2 separate regions of the Homo sapiens genome follow, and region 2 is linked to region 1. Evidence: promoter capture Hi-C in 16 types of primary human blood cells and fetal thymus (Javierre and others, 2016). All regions are on one chromosome and are shown on one strand. Each heading gives the region's core, a stretch centred on a gene start or on the middle of the fragment in contact. The rest is flanking DNA. Distances are from core to core; before and after follow the strand shown. Region 1 has its middle 11 kb from the start of CARMIL3. Region 2 holds the start of CIDEB (cell death inducing DFFA like effector b).

Evidence for each region. The method cuts DNA at HindIII sites, captures the fragments that hold promoters and counts their contacts. A CHiCAGO score of 5 or more calls a contact.
Region 2: the fragment with the promoter of CIDEB here is called in contact with a fragment that was not itself captured in region 1 in 1 of 17 cell types (activated CD4 T cells); the score reaches 5.8 in activated CD4 T cells.

The regions. Positions count from the first base shown.
Region 1 is chr14:24,038,512-24,044,386 of GRCh38, forward strand. It overlaps the pseudogene DHRS4L1. Among named protein-coding and RNA genes, the nearest start is that of CARMIL3, 11 kb to the right of the region's middle. The HindIII fragment of the contact is 635 bases long and covers 4,184-4,818 here.
Region 2 is chr14:24,304,021-24,310,185 of GRCh38, forward strand. It overlaps CIDEB (cell death inducing DFFA like effector b), which reads right to left and starts at 3,957. Exons shown (of 5, transcript NM_001393339.1): 1 at 3,798-3,957; 2 at 3,351-3,495; 3 at 2,354-2,503; 4 at 1,927-2,117; 5 at 1,167-1,745. The coding sequence starts at 3,838. The coding sequence ends at 1,613. It overlaps NOP9 (NOP9 nucleolar protein), which reads left to right. Exons shown (of 10, transcript NM_174913.3): 8 at 21-257; 9 at 473-578; 10 at 918-5,104. The coding sequence ends at 1,075. LTB4R2 (leukotriene B4 receptor 2) reads left to right here and starts at 6,120. Exons shown (of 2, transcript NM_019839.5): 1 at 6,120-6,165. The HindIII fragment of the contact is 15,090 bases long and covers 1-6,165 here.

The DNA of each region.
Region 1 (5,875 bases), core at 3,251-5,750:
GTCCCACAGCCAGTAAGGAAAGACCCAGACCTCCCAAGCTCCCTTCCTTTATTGGCTGCCTGTGGACTACCAGGTACTGGACTTTAGTCTCAAAGAAAGTATATAAGTCAGTGTCACAGTTAGTAGTGGATACCAGCCTTCCAGCTGCCGAAGGAAATATGAACCATCCAGCAAAGCAAGCTCCTCTTCCCTTGAGGCTCAGGATACACACTTTATTTTCCAGAGTGGAAGGGAGAATCTACCCAAAAATGGAAAGTACAGGGTTGTGCTAACAGATTGGAAGGTTGGCAGAAATAATTTGCATAATCTTAGAAGAGGAGGATCTTAAGCAATAGTAGACAGTAGCATGGTAGACAGTATAGGGTAATTCCGTTTTTAAGGAACTGTCTGGCAAATGCTCAAATGTGCATTGGAAAGAGCCAAATGTGAGTCCTAGAAAGTCACCTTGCCTGGCCTAGGCTGGTGGACAGAGCCCAAGATTGGGGCCTTGATCCTGATGGTGGAAGGAGCCGTTTGGGAGTCTGGGTCAATTAGTGACTAACCATATCACATGTAAGTAGCAATGTAATGTGAAAACCCTGTTGGGAAAACATCCTGTGGCCCCCACCAGGTTCACTTAACATGGCCTACAGGCCTGGCCCAGAGGTGGTACTTGAGCTAAACCTTAAGGAATGGATGGGAATGGACAGATGGAATAGTGACGAGGTTCCAGATAACTCTGCAAAATGAGCAGACAGCCAAGGAGGAACTGAAGGAAAGAGAGGAGCACTGTCAGGCCACAATGGAGAGCACAGGCTCAGGAGTACTGCTGGGGAAGGGGCTGCATTGGAAAGATAGAGGCCATGGGCCTCCATATCTTTTTTTTTTTTTTTTTTTTTTTTTTTTTTTTTTTTTTGTGACGGAGTTTCACTCTTGTCGCCTAGGCTGGAGTACAGTGGCACCATCTCGGCTTACTGCAACCTCTGCCTCCCAGGTTCAAGCAATTCTCCTGCCTCAGCCTCCTGAGTAGCTGGGATTACAGGTGCCCACCACCATGCCCAGCTAATTTTTGTATTTTTAGTAGAGACGGGGTTTCACCATGTTGGCCAGGCTGGTCTTGAACTCCTGACCTCAGGTGATCCACCCACTCAGCCTCCCAAAGTGCTGGGATTACAGGCGTGAGCCACTGCGCCCGGCCATAGCTTCTTAAAAGGATACGTTAAGGACCTTAAAAGGATATAGCCTCTTAAAAGGATATGTTTACACACTCTTGTAGCAAATAAGAAGCCATGTGAGGTTTTGAGCAAGAGAAAGATGGTTATTAGGAAAGCTAATCTGGCTCTGGTAGGAAGGATATACAGAGGAGACACCAAATCCAGGGCATCAGTGAGGAAGCTGTTGCTGTCGTCCAGGTTTAGAGCAGTGGCGGTGGGACTGGAATAGATGTGCCCAAGAGACATTCAGTGGAAACGAACCAAGATTTTCCAACCCCATGTCAAAAAGTGGGAAATAGAGAAGTCAAAAATGACTCTCAGGTAGTTTGTATGACCATTGTCAGAGAGGAGAATGATAGAATACTTGTCAGCAATTTGAAATGTCTTCTGCCAGTTGTCACATGTTACCCTGCAATGAGAAAAGCCACTGCCCTGAGAATGGATACTACCCAGTGGCCTCCTCATCTGCACACCACGAAGCTTCTCACTGGTGTTGTAAGTGGAAACCAGAGTAGCTGCCTATCTGCTTGATTATATTTTTTCTTAAAAATGTATAACTATCAGAACACAGAACAAACAGCTCCTAACCACTTTAGTGTAGTGATCACACAATTTAGAACACTTAGAAGACATCTTTTTCTTTTCCCCCCAGAGACAGGGCCTCACTCTGTTGCCCAGGCTGGAGTGCAGTGGCATGATCATAGCTCACTGTAACCTCCAACTCTTGAGCTCAAGCAGTCCTCCCCCGTCAGCCTCCCAAGTGGCTAAGATTATAGGCATGCACCACCACGCCAGTTCATCTTTTAAATTTGTTGTAGAGTTGGGGCTTTATTGCCCAGGCTGGTTTTGAACTCCTGGCCTCAAGCGGTCCTCCCTACTGGCCGTACCAAAGTGCTAGGATTATAGGTGTGAGCCACCACACCCAGCCTCATTCATCTTTTATGGTTTGCTGTCTCTGTTCATTCAAAACCCAGCCTCCTCCCATCTCTGTGCTGACAGACCTGGAAGTAGAGGGGCATGGGGTATGCAGCAGAGTAGAAAATGTCTCCAGGTGATTCTGGAGCAATCCACTGTCTTCTCCCAGCCCAAACACACGTGCACTGAGCACAGCACACATCACTTATTAACTTATTCTGCACCTCCCTAGTAACAAGTACATTGGTGAGACTTACACAGAGCCAAGGCAGGTGACTTGGCTTTGTGCCAGGATACCAAAATTTAAAGGGTGCAAGAAAGTATTCATACTGGTTTTAAAAGAGTACTTGACTTTAAATTTTGTTAGATTTACACGTTGACAGCCCAGGCATTTCTTCAACTGTGTTGAAGGTTAGCACCTAGTTAACAAGAATAATTAGTTAAAATGGGAAGCTAGCAGATGGTGTACATTGTTAATAACACCCCTCCGTGGGCCAAATCCGGAGCACAAAATTGACCAAGGGCCCATGTACTGCTACTTGCCCAAGGCATCAAAATTGCCAGTTCCAGGCAAATGCAAAGTCTGGTTTCAGGGTGGCTTTGTACTGAAAACCCTTGTTGGCAGATTCTGCTTGGCCATTCATTACTCTAGCACATGCCTCACTACCTACTTATAACTTATTAAGGAGGTGAGATGTTGCCTTTCTTGGCTTTCTCAGTTTAAATTTCCCTTTCTGCCTTGAATCTTTCATGCCTCCAGGTCAAAAGAGAGAGACAGAGACAGGGAAAATGACATCATAACCAAATATGGAATTGCTTTAAATTCAGGCTGGTATCTTCTCCCATCATGGCTCTCCTGGGCAGCCGGTTTCCTAATGACCCCAGCTCACTTTCAGAGGGCTCTTACGAATTAGCTCTGTGCTACAAAGTGGGAGACTGACCTCAGTTCTTCCACCACTAACTAGCTTTATGCCCTGAACAAATCACTTTCCCCAACACGGAATAAGCAGGCCTCCTGTTCTTAGCTAGCCCCAGTGTGTTACTACTGAACTATATGATCTTGAGAAAATTCCCTGAACCTGTTTCATCATCTCCACCTTAAGGACATTGGAATAGATGATCTCAAAGGCCCCTCCAGGGTAACTTTCTACAGCTCTATTTAAGCCAGTTTTTCCATTCAGGTAAGTGTGGCCAGATTGACTTTGAAATAATGGTAACTTATTCAAGAAGAACTGGACAGTAAGCACTTGGAGAAATGTGGGTGGAACTCAGTGTGAAAGGAAGAGGAGGGGTCTGGAAATAGATTTTGGGGTGAGATTTGAAATCACGAGAATGAAGGAGCTCCCAAATGGGAAAATGTAAAGAAAAGAGCATAGGGTCAGAGACAGCCTTAGAAGAATAGGAGGTGGGAAGAAAACACTGCAAAAGAAATAAGGCCAACTTCCTGGTGGCTCACACCTGTAACACTTTGAGAGGCCGAGGCAGGCGGATGGCTTTAGCTCAGGAGTTCCAGACCAGCCTGGGCAACATGGCAAGACCCTGTCTCTACAAAAAGTACAAAAATTGCCCAGGTGTGATGGCACGCACCTGTATTCTCAGCTACTTGGGGGGCTGAGGCAGGAGGATGGCTTGAACCCAGTAGGTCAAGGCTGCAGTGAGCTGGGATCATGCCACTGAACTCCAGCCTGGGTGACAGAGGAAGACTCCATCTAAAAAAAGAAAGAAGCCAACCTTAAATGGTTAGCAGCAGATCTTAGGGTAGTTTTCAAAAAAGATGTTTTAAGAAATAGAAGTTATTTTGACGATAGTTCCTAAGAAGGAAGATTTGTTGTTGTTGTTGTTGTCATTGTTGTTGTTTTTTTAAATATAGGGATAAGGTCTCCCTATGTTGCCCAGGCTTCTCTCAAACTGCTCAGTTCAAGTGGTCCTCCCACCGTGACCTCCCAAAGTGCCATGATTCCCGGCGTGAGCCACCACGCCCCGCCCAGAAGGAAGTTTTTATCAACGTGAATAAATGCACCTCCCTTACTTACTGCAGCCCTGGTCCAGACCTTACCCCTCTCCCTAGGCTATGAAGCTTCATGGAGTTATTGATATCCTATCACTATCGATAACAAACTCCGTCTGCTTTTAGAATGTGTTTATCAAGTGCAGTGTAAATGTGAGGAGTCTTTGCCACATGCCACACACCTGGAGCACACCTGGTAAAGGGCGGGTGGGGGCAGCTTCCTCTGTCCCTGCCCTTCTCATTCGTTTCTGCTGCTCCTACTTCTGTCTGCTTCCATCTGCCCTTCACTATCCACCGTCTGCTCCCCTCCCCAGCCTTCTTCCCGGCATGCTCTGCTACCTGGTTGATTTCCAACAGAGACGTGGCAGCTAATATGCCAACAACTATGACACTTAAACTTACACACCCAACTGTCCCCCTTTCAGCTGCCAAAAAGGAATCATTTTTCATTAGCTGGGAAATATTAAAAGCTGCTAGTTAAGTAAAATACTAATTCTGGTGAAATAACCAGTTGCCACTTTATAATATACATCCTTTAAAAAAGTAAAAATAAAAACCTATATTATTTTCTTCCTAACTGCAATGTCAAGAAAATCTGAGATCCAGATGTCTATATTCAAGTGGTACAATATTGGGTTTTATGTGTAAGTATATAATTACATTACATTCGTAATATATTTCACACACATTCTTTAATTACAAAGCTTTAATTAAAATATTTGTCTTTGTATACTAAGGTTAATAGTCCCACGATTTGGAAATGCTAATTTTTTATGATCTCCCATGGTTTTGCTTTTTACTCTGATGTTGTATTAGTCTGTTTTGCGTTGCTATAAAGGAATACCTGAGCTGGGCAATTTATAAAGAAAAAGAGGGTTGTGGCCGGGCGCGGTGGCTAACGCCTGTAATCCCAACACTTTGGGAGGTCGAGGCGGGCAGATCACGAGGTCAGGAGATCGAGACCATCTTGGCTAACATGGTGAAAGCCCGTCTCTACTAAAAATACAAAAAATCAGCCGGGTGTGGTGGCGGGCACCTGTAGTCTCAGCTACTTGGGAGGCTGAGGCAGGAGAATGGTGTGAACCCGGGAGGCGGAGCTTGCAGTGAGCCGAGATTGCGCCACTGCACTCCAGCCTGGGTGACAGAGCGAGACTCCGTCTCAAAAAAAAAAAAAAAAGAAAAGAAAAGAGGGTTGTTTTGGTTTACACTTCTGCAGACTGCAGAAGAAGCATGGTGCCAGTATCTGCTTCTGATGAGGCCTCAGGAAGCTTACAATCATAGCAGAAGGCAAAAGGGAGCAGGCGCGTTACATGGCAAGAGAGGAAGTGAGATACCAGGCTTTTAAACAACTAGCTCTGGCATGAACTAATAGAGTGAGAGCTCACTAATTGCCACCAGGAGAGCACCAAGCCATTCATAAGGGATCCACCCCATGACCCAAACACCTCACACCAGGTTCCACCTTGAACACTGGTGATCACATTTCAACATGGGACTTAGAGGGGACAAACATACCAACTATATCAGATGTCATCAAACATTTCTCAACACTAAAGTATCAGGATGTGAAAACACTATGATTTATTTACCAGTGTTTCATACACATAAAGACCAAAGTGCCAAAATGTTCTTCAGTGAGCTAGTTTTTTATTGTTAAGCTTTGTCCCTCTTTTTTTTTTTTTCCTCGCTGTGTCATCGAGGCTGGAGTGCAGTGCTGCGATCTAGCTCACTGCAACCCCCGCCTCCCAGGTTCAAGCGA
Region 2 (6,165 bases), core at 2,707-5,206, 260 kb after region 1:
TCTTATCTCTGCGCTGCCAGGTGGCAATGGCCGCAGCCAGAGCCTTGGGGGATGTGACAGTCCTTGGGTCTCTACTGCTCCAGCATCTGCTGCACTTCTCCACTCCTGGTCTTGTACTTCGAAGTCTGGGTGCCTTGACGGGACCACAGCTTCTGTCCCTTGCCCAAAGTCCCGCTGGCTCTCATGTGCTCGATGCCATCCTGACCAGCCCCTCTGTGACGCGCAAGCTGCGCCGCCGTGTGCTGCAGAACCTAAAGGTTAGATTTCTGGCTTTTGCCTTGATTCCCCACCATCATCCATTTAGAGAATATGAGCTTTCCCTGGACTGTACCTTCAGACTCAAAAAGGCTATGTAATTCCTAGACTATTTTAATTCAGCCCTTAAACTCTTCAGAAAATTCACTCTCCACAAGCCTCCAAAATACTTTTGTGGATTTTGCTAGGGAGACCTACTTTGCTTGTCTCCATACAGGGACAATATGTGGCTCTGGCCTGTAGTCGCCATGGCAGCCGTGTGCTAGATGCCATCTGGAGTGGAGCAGCCTTGAGGGCCCGGAAGGAAATTGCTGCTGAGCTTGGTGAGTACCAGCCCCTCTCTTTGATGTTTCCAGACTCTCCCCTCTCTTACTCCAGATCACTGGGTAGCTGGGAAGTCTACTGAAATTCAACAGTCTTTAGTTCCAAAGGGTGGTCTTGCTCATGGGTTCTTAGCAGTCTGCTTTCCCCTTCCCTCCCGCTGACTGATTGTGTAGTCCTCTGCCCTCACCCTGCCCTCTGACTTCTGTTCTTTGGAAAGTGAAGTGTTCACTTTATCCCAGTGGCAGTCCCAGGGTCTGGGGGAAATGGAGGGATCTTTACGTCAAGTAGAGTCTGTCTTTGAGCATGGTAGTACTAAACATGAGTGGTTCCCTTTGCAGGGGAGCAGAACCAGGAGCTGATAAGAGACCCTTTCGGCCACCATGTGGCTCGAAATGTGGCCTTGACTACCTTCCTAAAGCGGCGAGAGGCTTGGGAACAGCAGCAGGGTGCGGTGGCCAAGCGGAGGCGGGCATTGAACTCCATACTTGAAGACTGAGGCTTTGGATCTGGGACTGGGTGTTGATGGGGGAGGGCAAAATGGGGTATCCACCCCATCCCTTTCCTGGTTTAAATTGGAGTCAGAAGTCTTAGTGGTAAATATTTGATATTTTTATTGGAAATGTTTTTGTTAGTTTGAGGGGAAGGGTATGAAGACAGATCTCAAGGTAAAGTCAGAGAGGGCTGTCATCAGTATGCTGGGGAGTTTAGGGACAGGAGGCATTGGTAGGGGATTAGATGTAGCAGCAGTCAGGCTGGGATCAAGATGCCTGGGGGACATCTTGATCTTGGCCTTTCAGGGCAAGTGGGAGGCCAGAAAGGTGGCTAGGAAAGAACAGCATTCTTCAGGTAAGGGTATAGACTTGGGATGTGAGGCGTTATGCTGAAAGGTTCTGTCACGAGGGGATCAGAGGACAGTGGGGAAATTGGGTGGGTTATCTAGCCTGTACTGTCTGCAGGTCCTGAAATTTGATGCTGTCATAGTCTTTGCAGTGGGTCGGTTGGAATGATTCTGGGGGCAGAAGCTCAGAGCCCCTTAGTAGGAATGGAGGCGGCCCTTCTGCTGCCACTGCTCAGCCCCCTCCACTGCATGACGAAGGGTGGAGGAAATTCCCAGCAACATATGGCCCAGGCCTTGCAGCAGTGTGGAGGTCCAACGAAGGAGCTCCCTGAATGGCAGAGACAAGAGGAAATCAGATGATTTGGAAAACTTGGGAGGAAGCCATCAAGCTGGGAGATGAGGACTTTCCACAAGCAAGAGCTAACTAGGGGTAGGTGGGTGCAAGAGGACGAATTATGGGGACTATCCAACTGTAGGGGATGGGGCAGTATGACATGTTGATTTCTGACCTGAGTACTTTCTTTGGGCCAAGTCCTTGAAAGTCACAACTCATAGAGTAGAGCCCGTAGAATGTGGCTTTGACATTCAGGCTGCCAAAGAGGTCTCGAGGGTTTTGCTTGTACACGTCAAAGGTGAATCGGGCGATGTCCTTGCTGTGCTTGGGCCTCTCCCGTCCCAGGCCATATGACAGCACTCCACTCTGTAGGACACCCTTGTCAGTGCAGTAGATCCTCATACCAGACACCCACCACTAATCTCCATCAGCACTGGGTCAGACCCTCCCTCGCTTGGACTTTCTGTCCACTGTGTGACATCCTTGACAATTCCACAACTCCTCCTGCACCTGGTCCCCAGGATCAGGGTTAAGCTAGAGAGGAAGCCCGGGAAAGCTCTAAAGGACAGGCATTGGAAGCAGCCCCAGTATAGGCCTCTTACCCTTGTAGGGCTCCAGCTCTGACCAGACTGCAACACCATCAGGCACGTGTCATCCTCCAGCAGCTGGAAGAAGTCCTCACTGTCCACTGCAGTTCCATCCTCCTCTAGCACCAGGGTTAGCACTCCATTCAGCAGTAGGGTCTCCAATGCCTGCCCAATGGCAAGAAGCAAGAAGGGCAGGTCTTATCCCATGCCCCTTCCCTCTTTAGCTGCCCAACATCCATCAGTTGGCTCTAGACATTGGTCGATGTCCCACTTTGACTTTCCGGCACTTTGATACCTCCTAAAGGTTGCAGCTCTCCGTGTTCTTCAGTTTTTGGGGGATCCTAGCTAGAGGCTGACCTTTTTCCTCTTTGCTCCTACCATGTCATTGGCATCTCCCCTTGCTCCCCTCCAAGTCACTTCTGGTTTGGAATTGGAAAGCAAGCCAGGTTCTCACGAAGTCCACCCTTCTGTCTTATCTACAATGCTGCACCTCACTTCCCACACCCTCAAGAGTTCTCCAGAAGTGTTTTCAGTAATAGTGTTTAACCTTTTTGAGTCCTTACTCTGTGCCAGGTATGAGGACTTTACCTACATTATCCTCTTACTCCTTTCAACAACCCTAGGAGGTGATGTATTATTATTGCCTTTTTATAGTTGAAGAAACTGAGGTTTTGGTAGGTTGAACAACTTCCCAAGGTTTGACAGGCAGGAAGTGGCAGAATCAGAATTTGAACTTGATTTGTCACACAAATCACCTTTCCATACTAGCTTCTGAATTCTGTCCCTCGAACTCTCCCTATCTCCTGCTAACCCCTGCTCCCATAGAAAAGCTCACTCGGTGGAAAATGAACAAATTGACCAGAGCTCATTAGGCCCACTCCGCTGCTTTTAGCCCTCAGAGGGAGGGGCAGCTGTGTGACTTCAGCCCTCTGCTCCATCATCACAAGTTGCCACTGTTGTGGAGCCCCTTGGCTACCCCTGCTATAGGAACCGAGGAACTTGGCCTACTTACTTTGGCTAGCAGCTCCTGGCGGGTGGCAGCTGTCAGGCCTTTCCGGATGGTCCGCTTGTGATCACAGACACGGAAAGGTCGCTGGGGTGGTGGAGCTGAGGTCCAGACCCTCCGTCCAAACTCCGAGCTTATATTAGATACTGACCTGGTAGTTGAGAAGAAAAGTCAAGAAGGGGCGAGGAGGGGCTTGGTGAGTGTAAAGGGCATGATGAGGGTAGAGTGGCTAGAGGGCTAGGGAGGGAGAGATCTAGGTTTATCGATTAGGGATGAGGGAGAGACCATGGAGTGCAGGTGGGGGCGGGTGGCTCAGGAGCTTGACAAGCCCACTGTGGAGTGGGGAGCAGGAGAGGAAGGGGTACTGGTTAGTCTCCTAGGGGCTGAGTGGAGTATTGTTGCCCTGCCTATATCCCCTAAAGGTGGAGGGTAGAGCGGAGGGTTAGCAGTCACCTGAGTAAGTCACTGGGGTTCAGAGCTGAGAGGTACTCCATGGTGGACCGGAGAGTTCCTTCCCTGGAACTTCTGGGCTGGGTGGTTCTCTCCTGTGCTGGGGCTTTAGTGGTGTTTTCTGTTACAAACCTGGGATCTCAGCCCAGGACAAGGTGGGAATGAGTCAAGCCTGGACTCTGGCCCCCCTGCCTGGCCAGTAAGAAGGGCAAAGTCCAAGGGGAGGGATGAGGGAGGGGCCAGATGGGGTCCTGGAGGAAGAATTGCCTGGCAAAAGCCATTGGAGCTTGTATGTGTGTCTTTGGTGATGACATGTGTTGTGAGGGTAGATGGGAACCATGTAAAAGGATGAAATGTGACTTCTGGTGTTTTTTTATTTCTATGGAGGGAATTTCTGGGGACGGTTTCTGGCTCTCAGGCTCTGAGAAGCTGCAGTTTATGAGTGGCTCTGTGTGTGCTGCCACCTACTGGAGAAGCCATAAGCTGCAGCTTTAGGAAAAGGGAACCCGGGGCAGAGTGTGGGGAAGTGGGATGGCAGCATGGCAGGGCTTTGGAAAATGAGAGGTGAGACTGTGTCCAGGAAGGGTGTAAGGAGAGGATGGATCCTGATACATGGATTCAGGATCATTAGGGTCCTGTCTGGGACACTGGCCTTCCTGCTTACCTGCTCTTTCCTTCCTCCTTGGTCGGAGGAGGGGCTGGCTCACTGCTCTGGCTTCATTTTCCAGAGCTGCCTGCTGCAGTCACACTTAGGTCATCTTCTCTCACTTTTCTCCTTTTGCCGATTAGTGGACGTGACAGAGATGTGAATGGGGCAGGGATGTCCTTTGATGGCATCAAGACTTTAGCTTCTGGTGCGCTGTGTCCCAGCTCTGATTTCAGTTGCAGCCGTGATGGACAGTTGCATGGAAGCTGAGACTCTCACTGACAGTGAAACCCTCAAATGAACACAATCCCTGCTTTCCTGCCAAGGATCCTTGTAGGGTCCCCCAGCTTCCCCACTTTTTTTCTGTGTCCTGACAAAGAAACACAGAGTAACTTGATTGCCCTGTGACCTGGCCAGTTGCATTTCCCCTGCAGGCTTGAGCCCAAGCCAGAGCCTTGAAAAGGTATTCAGGTTGTTGCCCAAAACACTGAAAAAAACTGGCCCTGGCCCTGAACCAAATACCTTGAACCCTCGTAAACTCCATACCCTGACCCCCTTGTTTTGGATATACCCAGGTAGAACAACTCTCTCTCACTGTCTGTTGTGAGGATACGCTGTAGCCCACTCATTAAGTACATTCTCCTAATAAATGCTTTGGACTGATCACCCTGCCAGTCTTTTGTCTTGGGCAATCTATACTTTTCTCAGAGGTTCCCAAGGCCTACTGAAGGGACTTAACATACTCTTAATGGCTTTCCTCTCTCTTGTTTTACCTTATGCCCTCACTTCCTGAGTTAACCTCCCAAATACAGGATCACCTGTACCCAAGCCCTTAGCTCAAGAATACAGGATCACCTGTACCCAAGCCCTTAGCTCAAGCTCTGCTTTGGAAGAACCCAAACTAAGACAGTGCTCCTGGTGCCCTCCCCAAGCAACCTCAAGTTCTGGCTGTTACTTGAGCAGAGGCCTTTCTTTTCCCTTCCCCCAGCTCTATCCATCTGCCAGGCCCCCCTCAAATCTCTTCATTTCCAAGTTTTGCTTGACTTTTCCAAGAGGAGAGGGCTGCTTCTTAGTATGTCCCTACTCATCCTTTCCTTTCTTGTCTTGTATCCTGGTGCAGCCTGGTAATGGGGCCTCTTCATGGTTGTGTGTCATGACTCCCTAACCATTATGCCTCCATGCATCCCCTGTTCCTCCTGGAACCTAGCACCATGCCTTACATGGAAAAGCTGTCATTGACAGCCCGGTGAGAGCCCTGAGGGTGGAGTGACTGGGGCAGGGCCTGAGGCAAGAGGTGGGAGGAGGTAGGAGGCCAGGGGCTCAGCCGGACCAGGAGACTGGAAACAGGCAAGGATAAGGCAGGTGGGGGACTGAGTTGTTTGGGTCACCTCTGCAGGCCAGAGAGACCAGGCAACATACACACTGCAGAAGGTGGGCTGGGAGGATTGGGGCCAGAGCTGGGGGAGGGATGAGAACAGAAGCAGGACCAGGATTCAGCAGAGTCCTCCTATTTCCTTCCACCACCAGGGAATCTTACTGCCCCACTTCAGCTTGTGCTGTTTCCTGGCAAGGCAGGCTCTCACATGCCTGGACGCCTGGGTGCGTTGGTGATGGGAAGGAGCAGGGTGAGGGAGGGGCCCCAGGAGAGGCCCAGGATGAGCCTCATCTTGTCCCTCCCCATTCTTGTCTTACCCTCTGCAAATGTGATAGGCACAGGACAGGAGT